Linked DNA regions of Homo sapiens: regions 2, 3 and 4 are each linked to region 1. The links are contacts of gene promoters, found by promoter capture Hi-C in blood cells and fetal thymus (Javierre and others, 2016). All regions are on one chromosome and are shown on one strand. Each heading gives the region's core, a stretch centred on a gene start or on the middle of the fragment in contact. The rest is flanking DNA. Distances are from core to core; before and after follow the strand shown.

The links. The method cuts DNA at HindIII sites, captures the fragments that hold promoters and counts their contacts. A CHiCAGO score of 5 or more calls a contact.
Region 2: a contact is called between the fragment with the promoter of IFNA2 here and the fragment with the promoter of MLLT3 in region 1, in 2 of 17 cell types (total B cells and monocytes). The highest score is 8.6, in total B cells.
Region 3: a fragment that was not itself captured here is called in contact with the fragment with the promoter of MLLT3 in region 1 in 1 of 17 cell types (naive CD4 T cells); the score reaches 5.1 in naive CD4 T cells.
Region 4: a contact is called between a fragment that was not itself captured here and the fragment with the promoter of MLLT3 in region 1, in 4 of 17 cell types (non-activated CD4 T cells, total B cells, naive CD8 T cells and 1 more). The highest score is 6.9, in non-activated CD4 T cells.

The regions. Positions count from the first base shown.
Region 1 is chr9:20,621,006-20,624,362 of GRCh38, reverse strand. It overlaps MLLT3 (MLLT3 super elongation complex subunit), which reads left to right and starts at 1,864. Exons shown (of 11, transcript NM_004529.4): 1 at 1,864-2,118. The coding sequence starts at 2,107. RefSeq lists silencers at 1,266-1,405, 1,426-1,885, 2,306-2,455, 2,526-2,575. The HindIII fragment of the contact is 2,564 bases long and covers 1,128-3,357 here.
Region 2 is chr9:21,383,837-21,387,193 of GRCh38, reverse strand. IFNA2 (interferon alpha 2) reads left to right here and starts at 1,796. Exons shown (of 1, transcript NM_000605.4): 1 at 1,796-2,939. The coding sequence starts at 1,865. The coding sequence ends at 2,431. The HindIII fragment of the contact is 9,842 bases long and covers 1-3,357 here.
Region 3 is chr9:19,967,377-19,970,733 of GRCh38, reverse strand. It overlaps a transcript of SLC24A2 not described here and the pseudogene GLRX3P1. Among named protein-coding and RNA genes, the nearest start is that of SLC24A2, 180 kb to the right of the region's middle. RefSeq lists an enhancer at 2,225-3,064. The HindIII fragment of the contact is 3,026 bases long and covers 210-3,235 here.
Region 4 is chr9:20,040,413-20,043,769 of GRCh38, reverse strand. It overlaps a transcript of SLC24A2 not described here. Among named protein-coding and RNA genes, the nearest start is that of SLC24A2, 250 kb to the right of the region's middle. The HindIII fragment of the contact is 2,219 bases long and covers 653-2,871 here.

The DNA of each region.
Region 1 (3,357 bases), core at 615-3,114:
AGCCCTTGGATTTAGATTAAAATGTTTCTACCTTCAGTCGTTTGCTCCATTCTATGCTAAATCCTGTAGAAGGCTGGGAAGAACTGGGGACCTCAAGCCAAAGAAGTTTCTTGATTATAACTGACAGGCAGCGGAATATCAGTTTTAGGGAATCAAAAGTTGAGTTGGAAGGCTGCTGGTTTGGAAACTAAGGTTGGTTCCAAGTGGTCCGACCTGATTCCCAGGATCTTTGTGAGAGCTGCTGGGAGAACTGAAAATTAACAGCGAGGACACAGGACGCCCTAGGTAACGTCCTCCCCGCTATTCTGCTCTTCTCAATTCAAGGGCCGAGACAACTTGCTTTTGTGGAAAAGGGAAGTAAAGGGAAAAGAGGAAAGCAAGGAAGTTCAGTCAGAAAGAGGAAGAGGGACAAAGAGGAAAGAAAGGGACAAAGAGGAAAGAAAGGGACAAAGAGGAAAGAAAGAGGGACAAAGAGGAAAGGCAAGGAGAAGAGAAGGAAAAATCAAGGTTCAGCAAGAAGTTGGAAGGCGAGGGAAAAAGGGGAGTAAAGAGAAGGCAAAAGAGGTCTAAGGGCTAGGAAGATGCAAGGATCTTTTTTTAACGAACCAAAGTCACATCCATCTTTCACTTTCAAATCAATCGTCTAGATCTTATCCGTTTCCTTTTTAAAGGTTATCTGCGTCTGTAAAGGAAGCCAGTAGTTGATACTCCTCTCCGCGCCCCACGCGTGGCCGCGCTGTTCTATCTCCGGCCACTGAGATCAAATACAACGCGAGTGAGAACATTTGCAGAGGCGCGACTCTGGGAACACTCCTGCGACTGGCTGTCACCCGGGAGTCTAACCGGATTAATACTCAGAGATGGATTACGCTGGTTGTCACCAATACGCCTAAAGATTATAATCCAATTTACGCACATTACAGTCAGTATTAACTTTATCTGCTATTTTAAGACTCCCGGTTGCCCCGCGCGTCCTCAGAGGACAATCCTCCACGTTCTGATGCAACTCAGTAGGCTGTCAGGAGGGGAAGCCCCCCGAAGAAAACAACTCCAAGCCTGGTCCCCGAGGGTCTGTACCCGGCACTCCCAGGTGTCTTGCTTTCACCTGGGCACCGCTTTATGAAGCTTCCCAGCCGGGGATTACCAAAGCGGAAGGCGTTCCCTTGCAAGGAAATAGCATCCTTGTTTCTCCCTTGTTCATTTCATTTTCAAATTTTCGGTGGCGGTGGCAGAAGGGCGGGGAGTGAGGGTGGCGGGCGGGTGCCTGTGAGTGGATGGGGCAGGGGGCCAGGGGATCGTTGCGGGTTAGAACAGCCTCAGTCATTGCTATTTTCATGCTCGTTTTTTGCAGGATGGCATTTCTCTCGCTCTCTTTAAGTAAGTTTGTTTGGGTGTGAGTTCTTGTCTTTTCAGCACAAAACCACAGAAATACGTGGTGGAAAGTAAAAGAAAGCCCACTCCCTCCTCCCCGTGCGTACTAGCTAAGGACTTGATTTAACACCCCCTCTCCGGCTGCTGAGGGCTCTAAGCAGTGGCTACATTCCAGCAGTTTTAATCCGTTTTTTATTGTAGGGCGAGCAGAGTTTACACAGGGGCTGGGATGGCTCCCCAGCTGGCCGCTCTCCCCACTCCTGCGTCCCCTCCCTGCCACCCCCCCAGCAGGAACCTGTTACTTTAAGCGAGGCTTTCCAGTGTGGCGCTGCGGGCCGCCGGGGTTTCGGGAGGTGGCAGGTGATTGGCTCTTTCGAGCTCCCCCTGGCTCGCTCGCTCTGCCTCCCCGCGCGCTCCGCCCCGCCCGCAAGCCCTCCCTCCGCCCTGTGAGGCTCGGAGCCCGGGTGTCAGGCGCCACGGCGCATGCTCCGCAATCATCTTCTTTACCCTGGAGCTGCTGCTGCTGCTGCTGCTTTTGCTTTTGGGGCTGAGTTTAATAAGCGAGCGAGCGAGCAAGCGAGCGCGGGGGGAAAAAGGCAGAGAATGTCCGCCATCTACCCTCCGCTCCTGGGCGCGCTCTCATTCATAGCAGCCTCTTCATGAATTACAGCTGAGGGGGGGCGGAGGAGGGGGGGGTACCACACAACACCCCAGCAAACCTCCGGGCCCCCAGGCATGGCTAGCTCGGTAAGTACGCGCAAAAATAATAATAAAAGCCCTCCCCCACTTTCCTTCCTCGCCCTGCGCCGCCGCAGCCCAGACAGCGCCAGCGCTCCGCGGTTCCAATTAGAGAAAGGTTGGTACGGCTTGCAGGGAGCTGCCGCCTCTCCCTCAGCCTCCGCTCCCCTCCTCCCCCACCCCCCCCCGGCGCGCACACAGACACACAGACACACACACACTCACACACGCTCACACTCGCCCCTCCACCCCCCGCGCCTCCCTCCCTCCTCGCCTCTTTGCAGTCACAAGAAGCGCACTCACACACTCCCTCTCGCTCACACGCGCGCACTCACACACACACACACACACGGTGGAAGGAGGCGAATAATAACTCAGCCATATTTCAGCCGCCGCCGCCGGGAGCTGCGGGCACAGTCCGGGGACGCGGCGAGCAGCCTCGGCGGCCGCACCTCCGCAAAGCGCCGCGGCCGCTACGATGGTGCGTTCTCCGCGGCGCGCGTGTGTGAGCCGAAGTGTGCGGGGCTGACAGCGGCGGGGCCGCACGCAACTTTGCCCCAGCGCCGGGAGGTGCTGAGCGCGAGCCGAGGCTCGGCGGCTGTCCGCCCGCCGCCCTGCCTTTCTGAATTTCATTTTTTGGGGGGAGGTGGGAGATACTTTGGAGCCACTTGGGCTCTTGAAAGTGTGTTGCGGGGGCTCGGTTCGACTGGCCTCGCCGATCGCGTGGGGCTTTTCGCTGGGGGGTGCGGGGTGCTCTAAGTTATGGATGCCTCGGCGTGTTTTCCTGCGGGCGTGTGTGTGTGTTTCAGTGTGTATGACGACGTCTCATTTTTGTTGTGCACGAACCCCGTGGCAAGAGCACGGGAGTTTGTGCCCATCAGCAGAGGCTGCCTGTAGTTTCCATTTCGCCTGGCACAGCGCTCCACACGCACGCACACACACGTACACAAAGACTTCCTCGGCGTGTGCCTGTCGCCGCGGTACTTTCGGGGAGGGGGCTCGCCAGGAGCCCTTCGGTCCCCCTGGGTCCCAGCCACCTCCCCTCCCACGCCGGGAAACCGCCCCGGCATCGCCTTCTGATTTGTTTCCGATGCATTTGTTGTCGTGCTTGTCGTGGCTGAGTGTGTTCTCCCTCTTTTCCCCGACCCCCTTCCCGACTGGGGATAACATTCCGTTACAATCCTGTCCGATGTAGATGCGGGGCCCGGGGCGCCTGGGGCCAAGCCGGGCCGGGCGGGCGGGTATATT
Region 2 (3,357 bases), core at 547-3,046, 760 kb before region 1:
AGCACATGGATAATTCTCAAGGATATACCAAATGCTAGGTCACAAAACAAATCTTAAAATTTAGAAAAAAAGTGAAATAATATCAAACGTTTTCTCTCACCACAGACTAAGAAAAAAAGAAGTCCCAAATAAATACAATCTGAGATAAAAAAGGAGACATGACAACCAATACCACAAAAAATTAAAGGATCATTAGAAGATACTATGAAACTATATGCTAATAAATTGGAAAACCTGAACAAAATAGATAATTCCTAGAAACATACAACATACTGGTCTGTTCAGGTTTTGTATTTTTTCATAGTACCATGAAGAAATACAAGAATTGTTTCTAGAACCATTCTTGTATTTCTTCATGGTTTTTGTATTTCTTCATGGAACCATGAAGAAATACAAAATGTGAACAGGCCAATAACAAGTAATGAGACAGAAGCCATACTAAAAAGTATCCCAGAAAAGAACTCAGGATCTGATGGCTTCACTGATGAATTTTGCCAAATATTTAAAAAACTAATACCAATCCAACTCAAATTATTAAAAAAATAGAGGTGGACAGAATCTTTCCAAATGTATTCTATGAGGCCAGTGTTTTTTCTGATTGAATCTCCCATTATATTTTAATCACATATAAAACCAGAGAAAGACACATTAAAAAGAAAGAAAACTGTAGGCCAATATCTCTGATGAACATTGATGCAGAAATCCTCAACAACAAATTAGCAAACTGAATTCAAGAACACATTAAAACAATCATTCATCATGACCAAGTGGAATTTGTCCTAGAGATTCAAGTGTGGTTAGGTATGTGCAGATCAATGGGTTTAATGTTGTCCAATGAACATAATGTCCTCCAGCTCCATCCATGTTCTTGCAAATGACAGGATCTCATTCTTTTTTATGGCTAAGTAGTACTCCATTGTGTATAAGTGCCATATTTTCTTTATCCATTCATCTGTTAGACACCTAAGTTGCTTCCAAATCTTAGCTATTGTGAATAGTGCTGCAATAAACATGGGAGTGTAAATATTTTGTTGACATACTGATTTCATTTCCTTTGGATAAATACCCAGTAGTGGGATTGCTGGATCATATGGGGGAAAATGGAGATGGCTAACGGGCACAAAAATATAGTTAGAAAAAATGAATATGATTTAGTATTCGATAGCACAATAGGATGACTACTGTTAATGATAATTTATTATATATTATAAAATAACTAAAATAGTATAAATGGGATGTATGTAGCAGAGAGAAATGATAAATGTTTGAAGCATTGGATACTCCATTCACCCTGCTGTGATTATTATGAATTGTCTGCCTATATAAAAATATTTCACTTATTCCATAAACACAGACGCCTCTTATGTACCCACAAAAATCTATTTTCAAAAAAGTTGCTCTAAGAATATAGTTATCAAGTTAAGTAAAATGTCAATAGCCTTTTAATTTAATTTTTAATTGTTTTATCATTCTTTGCAATAATAAAACATTAACTTTATACTTTTTAATTTAATGTATAGAATAGAGATATACATAGGATATGTAAATAGATACACAGTGTATATGTGATTAAAATATAATGGGAGATTCAATCAGAAAAAAGTTTCTAAAAAGGCTCTGGGGTAAAAGAGGAAGGAAACAATAATGAAAAAAATGTGGTGAGAAAAACAGCTGAAAACCCATGTAAAGAGTGCATAAAGAAAGCAAAAAGAGAAGTAGAAAGTAACACAGGGGCATTTGGAAAATGTAAACGAGTATGTTCCCTATTTAAGGCTAGGCACAAAGCAAGGTCTTCAGAGAACCTGGAGCCTAAGGTTTAGGCTCACCCATTTCAACCAGTCTAGCAGCATCTGCAACATCTACAATGGCCTTGACCTTTGCTTTACTGGTGGCCCTCCTGGTGCTCAGCTGCAAGTCAAGCTGCTCTGTGGGCTGTGATCTGCCTCAAACCCACAGCCTGGGTAGCAGGAGGACCTTGATGCTCCTGGCACAGATGAGGAGAATCTCTCTTTTCTCCTGCTTGAAGGACAGACATGACTTTGGATTTCCCCAGGAGGAGTTTGGCAACCAGTTCCAAAAGGCTGAAACCATCCCTGTCCTCCATGAGATGATCCAGCAGATCTTCAATCTCTTCAGCACAAAGGACTCATCTGCTGCTTGGGATGAGACCCTCCTAGACAAATTCTACACTGAACTCTACCAGCAGCTGAATGACCTGGAAGCCTGTGTGATACAGGGGGTGGGGGTGACAGAGACTCCCCTGATGAAGGAGGACTCCATTCTGGCTGTGAGGAAATACTTCCAAAGAATCACTCTCTATCTGAAAGAGAAGAAATACAGCCCTTGTGCCTGGGAGGTTGTCAGAGCAGAAATCATGAGATCTTTTTCTTTGTCAACAAACTTGCAAGAAAGTTTAAGAAGTAAGGAATGAAAACTGGTTCAACATGGAAATGATTTTCATTGATTCGTATGCCAGCTCACCTTTTTATGATCTGCCATTTCAAAGACTCATGTTTCTGCTATGACCATGACACGATTTAAATCTTTTCAAATGTTTTTAGGAGTATTAATCAACATTGTATTCAGCTCTTAAGGCACTAGTCCCTTACAGAGGACCATGCTGACTGATCCATTATCTATTTAAATATTTTTAAAATATTATTTATTTAACTATTTATAAAACAACTTATTTTTGTTCATATTATGTCATGTGCACCTTTGCACAGTGGTTAATGTAATAAAATATGTTCTTTGTATTTGGTAAATTTATTTTGTGTTGTTCATTGAACTTTTGCTATGGAAACTTTTGTACTTGTTTATTCTTTAAAATGAAATTCCAAGCCTAATTGTGCAACCTGATTACAGAATAACTGGTACACTTCATTTATCCATCAATATTATATTCAAGATATAAGTAAAAATAAACTTTCTGTAAACCAGGTTGTATGTTGTACTCAAGATAACAAGGTGAACCTAACAAATACAATTCTGCTCTCTTGTGTATTTGATTTTTGTATGAAAAAAACTAAAAATGGTAATCATACTTAATTATCAGTTATGGTAAATGGTATGAAGAGAAGAAGGAACAACCGATGATTTCTCTCTGCAGAAGGTAGATTGAGGCATGTGAGGAAATAAAAATAAGACAGAGACATTCTCTTTAAATTGACTAGTATACATCTATTAGAAAATGTCCATTGCCAGTTAGATATATAAGTTTGCAATTTGCAAGGAATGCGATTGCTGGGGGTTTATATGTGATAAGAGAAAGCCAAGAAATGAAGGTCATGGTGTTGGGAGAGAGTGTAGAGAGAGAAAAAGTTTTAAACATGATTCTGAGGACCTTTCGCTTTTAAA
Region 3 (3,357 bases), core at 473-2,972, 650 kb after region 1:
AAAATAGATTCATTTTTTATAATTGATATATGAACATTTCATGTCATAATTCCTAAGATAGTTTATAACTTCTATGGGGACCAGTCTTCATCCCATGGTATTATTGTATTCTCAACAAATGAACTTAACATCCAAGGAATAATACTAAAATTGCTACTTATTAGAGCTTAATGCTTTTCTCATAAAACTTGCAGAATTCAAAATAAGCTTTCCTACTGGAGGCAGACTCTCAGGGAGATTTTCTGTGTTAGGAATTTGATATTTTCCTTTCAAATAAGAAAAAGAAAAAACACTCACACACCTGTATTTTCTCTTTCTGAAGTTACTTCACAACTAAATGGAGTATTACTATTTCCATTTCTTGAGGGAGACAATTATTTTAATTTACATAAAACTTGGTGACATCTTAGACAAAGGGAAATATGTACTCCCCCTGCTATCAGTTAACTCTCCAGTTAGTGACTTTGTGGAAGGATTCCTGAAAAATATCAGTGATTTCAGAAAGGGTTCCCTTCCACTTTCAGGGGAAAATCAGAACCTCCTCATTCACCTTGCAATAAAGGAGCTACCTGGTCATATCTGTGGTTATGCGTGGAGGGGTGATGGGGGCAGTGAGAAGGGAAGGGGCCTTGTCCAGACTGCAGCTTGCTTGCTGTTGCTCTCAGCCCATTATTTGTGCTGAATAAGGTCAGGTAGAGGATTCCTTCTGAAGATGTGTGAAGCAAGGCCACAGAAATATGTAAAGGTGGTATCATGATGTCCTGTAGTCTCTCCCACTCTTCCCCATATTTATGTCACTGACTCACACTCTTGCACAGACACTTTATATTGCAATCCCTAGTATAGCTCATAACTCCTATTGGGACCAGTCTTCATCCCTTTTGTTATGATATTCTCAACAATTGGATTTTGTTTGACTCAGGTCAAAAAGCCTTGAGTTAGTATTTTAACCAAGTCACTTACAAGCTCTATGATCTTTAATATTTGAAGTAATTATGTGAATTTCCTACAATCCCCTCTTCATCACTGCTCTCTCTCTCTGTCTTCCAACTTTCTACCGCCTTGCTTCTTGGTTCTTTTCTTACTACTGTAGCCTCAATCCTCACAGGCATTGCCTATCCAGGAGAGAAAAAGAGGCACTGGAAGTAGCTAAATCTTAAATTAGAAGGTGGAACTTACTGTGGACATCTCTGCAGAAAAGCAGTAATGTGTGAGGAGTGAAGAGACACCAGAAGAAAGGAAGAGGGAGCATGGACTTTCATATTGAAGAGAAAGGGAGTGTGGAATTTTTTTGTGCTTTATTGGCATGAGACTCAGACTTTCAGAGAGATAGTGAGACTGAAATGACTTTGGTTTTTATGGAAATTATCATTTAACTTTGATCTTGAGGGAATGTCACTGAGCCAAGTTCTGAAGTTTAGGTTTTGGGGGAGGGAGTGGAGGCTGTGAGACAGAAGAGATGAAAAAGGAAAAGAATGAAGGAAATTCTTCATTCTGGGAGGAAGAAGTGTGTGTGTGTGTGTGTGTGTGTGTGTGTGTGTGTGTGTGTGGCAAAGGAGGTGGCGGACGCAGAGGTTAGGGAATTCCCTTTTCCTCCCTGGCCTCAGGAATTCAGGTTTAAAACACAAGAAGCCTTAGAGAAGCTGAAAGAAAGCTGTTCTTAATTGCCTCAGTTCCGTGCTAGTTATAAACACTGGAAAGAAAATGGGATTGAAGAATGTCTGGTAGAACAGCCACTGTAAACCTTTTATTATCATATTTGTGGCTTCTGGGGTATGACTTTAATGCCATCTTTTAAGATGTTACTTAAGCAATTGTGTTTAAATTTCAAAAACCTATCCCAAGTATTTCTTTTCTCCCTTCAGTTAATTTTCCATTTATATAAATGATTTCCTTGCTGCAGAAACTCATGCCTTGAGATGAATGCACAGTTTGAATATTTTCACATTTGGAGCAATCTGTTAATGACGTAAAATAATATATAGAGAAAAAGCAGAGCATTAGAGGGCCAAGGACCTCTGTAAATGTTCTGATGCCAGCTAGTCACAGCTGGCTGTGTGACCTTGGGTGAAGTCCTTAACTTCTCTAAGTCTTAACTCCTACATGTGCACTACATGAATGGGAAAGGCTTTCCAGCTCTAAATATTTGTTTCATAATTGGTCTTGAGGTCAATATAACACCTAAAACAAAGTTAGTATGAAATACAAGTCTATCCACTTCTTAGAGTCTGTGGACCTTATTTCTATAAGCAAATTAACTTCTCCAAATTCCAATTTCCTCATCTATAAAATGGAAATTGTAATACAGTTTTGTATCTATCTTGTTAGCCTTGTTGTGAGGTTTGCATGAGAAAATGTTTGCAAACAGTTTAGCATAGTGACTGGCACTTAGTAAGTGCTCCAAGGATGTAGGTTAAAAAGAAAAGAAAACAAAAGCTGCTGTGTTTCAGAGTCAAATTACTCTCTGTGGCCCATGTGGGTCCCTGTGGGCTCCCTGGTGTGCTCAGATGAACAATGGAAAGCAGAGTTAGCATAACAAAGATGATGATGAAGATTATGATGATGAAAACAAACCAGGCTCTGTTCAAAGTGCTTTATTTGTATCAACTCATTTAATCTGAATACAAACCCTATAAGGTAGATAAAATTATCCTCCCTATTTTATAGGTGGGGAAACCAAGAGAGTAAGCAACTTACCCAATGCCATACCTCTGGGAAAGTAACCCTCTACTTCCATTAGTGAAGTTGAACTCTGACACTGCCCCTGAAGTATGTTTTTAAAAAAGTTATTTCAAATCCAACCTTTTTGGTTTTTCAAGGATGCTCAGAAAGTTAGCTGAATAAATAATGTCCAAGCCTGAATCAACCCAAAATTTCCATGCCTGTATTTTCCCACCTGGTGCTAATGAACATGCACAAGGAGATGGCAACATTTGTCTAATGACATTAACTAATGCTGCCCCCTGCATGGTGATTATGAGTGGAGCTGTGCTGTGGCTTCAGCAAGCAGGTGGTGGAAATTCTTAATGAAGATTGCATTCAGATTACAGTGTTTGGATATATCTTATGATGAGATTTGCTAAGGGCTCAAAACCTTTTCCAATTGGCTCACTTATCCTCAGAGCTAACAGGAGGGCTTGATATAAAGAACTGGAAGCATGGAAAGAACTAAACGTAAATTGCATCAGAGCTACCCCTACATTAGAGACTGACTCTGAATGCTAATGAATAAGCTTCTGTGATGCTCTTTATGAAAGCAAAGTGATAGGGGGCAAAATATAGACTCAGAAGACCAATTCTGACTAAAGAGCACTGGCATAGATTAAGAGACACTTCATCTGTTGGGGAATGAGCAGT
Region 4 (3,357 bases), core at 513-3,012, 580 kb after region 1:
CATCTCAATAAACTACTTTCTTTCCTCCTCCATAAGAAGCAATTCCTTATCTGTTCAAGTTTTGTCATGAGATTGTGGCCATTCGGTGCCATCTTCAGGTTTCACTTCTAATTCAAGTTCTCTTACTATTCCCACCACATCTGCAGTGACTTTCTCACTGAAGTCTTAAACCTCTCAAGGTCATCTATGAGGGCTGGAATCAGCTTCTTCCAAACTCCCATTAATGTTGATGTTTTGATCTCCTGGTATGAATCACAAATGCCCTTAATGGCATCCAGAATAGTGAATCCTTTCCAGAAGCTTTTCAATATACTTTGTCCAGATCCATCAGAGAGAATCACTATCTATGGCAGCTATCACCTTACAAAATGTACTTTCTAAATAATGAGACTTGAAAGTCAAAATTACTGCTTGACACATGGGCTGCAGAATGGGTGTTGTGTTAGCAGGCAAGAAAACAACATTCATCACTCTGTATATCTCCATATAGGTAATAAGTTTGTTTCACTTTCTTTTCGTTCTTTTGCTCACTGGAGTAGCACTTTTAATTTCCTTCAAGAACATTTCCTTTACATTTATACCTTTGCTAACTGGTGCAAGAGCCCTAGCTTTTGGCGTGTCTCAGCTTTCGACATGCCTTCCTCACTAAGCTTAATCATTTGTGGCTTTTGAATTAAAGTGAAAGGTGTGTGACTCTTTCTTTCACCTGAACACCTACAGGCCATTGTAGGGTTATTAATTGGTCCAATTTCCATATCGTGTCTAGGAAATAGGGAGACCCAAGGAGAAGGAGAGAAATGGGGAAAAGCCAGTCATTGGAGCCATTAAAATACACATAACATTTATCAATTAAGTTTTCCATCTTACATGGGCATGGCTTGTGGTGCCTCAAAGCAATTAAAATAGTGACATCAAAGATTACTGGTCACAGACCACCACAACAGATAAAATAATAATGAAAAAGTTTGAAATATTGCAAGCATTATCAAAACATGACACAGAGACATGAAGTGAGCACATGCTGTTGGAAAAATGGCACATAGATATTGTTGCCACAAACCTTCAATTTGTAAAAAACACACTACCTGCAAAGTGCAATAAAGCAAAGCACAATAAAAGGAGGTATGCCTGCATTCTCTGCTACTGAAAAGGAGAATATTGGAAGGATAAATGAACATGTCCCTTAGCAATAAGGCCTAGGACCCAGAAGGAAGGCCATGTCCTCTCACCCCTACCTTGGTGGGTGCTTTCTCCCATGACTCAGTCCCCTAGGGTTAGATAACTTTGGTTTTCATTCTTACTTCAGAAATCTTAGATCTAGGATTGCAGAATCAAGCTGTCAGCTCTAAAAGTCCTCTATAACATTTCTTCCAGAAGGCTCAGATGTCCTTATGCAAATGAAATCCTTGATGCTTTCTCAGATATTCCAGAGTTCCTCAGGGGTGTACACTCAGTTCAGATTTCTCTCTTGTGACTGTATCTTTAAGTGAAGTTGTTCTTTTCCTTTCCCTAGACACCACAAATGTCCACCATTTCTTCCTGCTTATTATTTAAATATACTTAGAGGCTGCCTTCTGGAAAGTGCTGGACTCATGGCAGGTTGGAGATCTCCAGAGCTGTGCCCTCTTGACCCCAGCCAATTCCTGCCACAGTCTGCCCACCAGGGACAGTGCTCCCCTCAGTGGCACATTTGCCAGGCCAGGAAGTACCAGGCAAATGTCCCACCACAAGATGACAGGCTCCCCACCACAGGTGCCAGACTCTTCTCCTTTGTCTCATGGTAGCGCTTGTAGCTGCTGCGGCCACAGTGCAGAGTCTGGCACCTGAGGGGACAGAAAGGGGGGCTCTCGGCAGCAAGCCTACCTGTCAAGTGCTTCTGGGATTAGGAGTGCGCATTGCCAACTCCCCACTCTGGAAGAACTTGATGGGTGGGCATCCTGCCAAGAGGCAGAGCTCAAAGCCCTTCTGTGCATGTGCTTCTTAGACCCCCGACTGGCTACTTAGCCATTTGGCCAGATACCAACTTCTCCAGCAGTGTTTTTGAGCCCTGCCCATCTTTCCTTTGGCTGAATTGAGCAGACCTCCTATCAAATACTATCAATTTTCCTTCATATGTATGAGGCAGACCCTGAAGCAGTTTGTTGGGTTGGGTCCATGTCTTTCCTCTATCGTAACTGCCCTCTCTCCCTCCCCACCACTGATTTTGATGATACAAGGCTGGTTTTGTTCTTTGGAAACAAAACCCCTGTCCTGGGTGGATGTTCCAAGTCAGAAAGCCTGGCTGTGTTTATCCCAGGCCATTGGCTGGGCATGCACATGCTTTTTGTATTTGGTAAGTGACAGTATTTGCAAAAGCTGATTGCCACAGCAGGCGGAACAGAGACAAGACTAGCAAAAACATGTGTCGGTAACATATGCTGTAGCCTTTTCTTCTTTGCTTGGAGGACTGACACTTCCTACAGGAAGAAGTAATTATTTTGCATGTGCATAGATTACACTGGAATGAAAAAGACAGAGGAGGGGCTGCTGCTTTGTATATGAAAGAAGAAATACCTCCCTATCTCTCTTTCTTTTTCTCATGCATGCTTCTGCGCGCACACGTGCGCACGCGCGCACGCGTACACACACGCACTCTCTCTCTTTCTCTCTCCTCATTCTCATATGCAAGCACACAGGTTAACCTGCTTTATTTTTAGACATTGCTTCTTTAAAAGAAAGTCGATGTCCTAAAAAAAATTCAGAGCCTGTAATTAGCAGAGCTGCCCTTTTTAGGAGAGAATAAAAGCATTACGTTAGGAATTAAACAGATCTGTGCACAGGTCCTGTCTCCCCTTCATATAGGTTGTGTGACCCATAGAAAATTATTAAGCTTCTAACCCTTGTCTGCCACAGGTAGACAAACGGCTCAACTCTTAGGCTTGTTGTGAGGATTAAAACTACAAAATACATGTGGAAAGCAGCTTGTGTAGGCTCTGGGGCTGTGCTGTCCTTTCCCTTCCCTGGGTTAGCTTTCCAGAAGGAAAAATAATTGTAAATAGCCATGATGCATCTTCACTGATGAATGACTGTGGGCAATCCCAGCTAGTTCTGCAACCACTTAGAACCTCAGAACTTAATTCATGTATTTCTATGTAGCCACAAAGAATAAGTCTAGAAGTGGATCTTGGAAAAGTAGAGCCAATGGGAACTCAGATTCCTGCCCTTGAAGGCATTTTTGCCTCGGTCATTTGGTGGGGGTTGAAAAGAAATGGGTGACGCACATTGGGATAGAGCCAGCAAGACCCTCTGGTATCTTGCTGTAAGCTCAGAAGTCCTAGCAACAGCATAACCACCATTTGATTCATTATTCCATCTTAA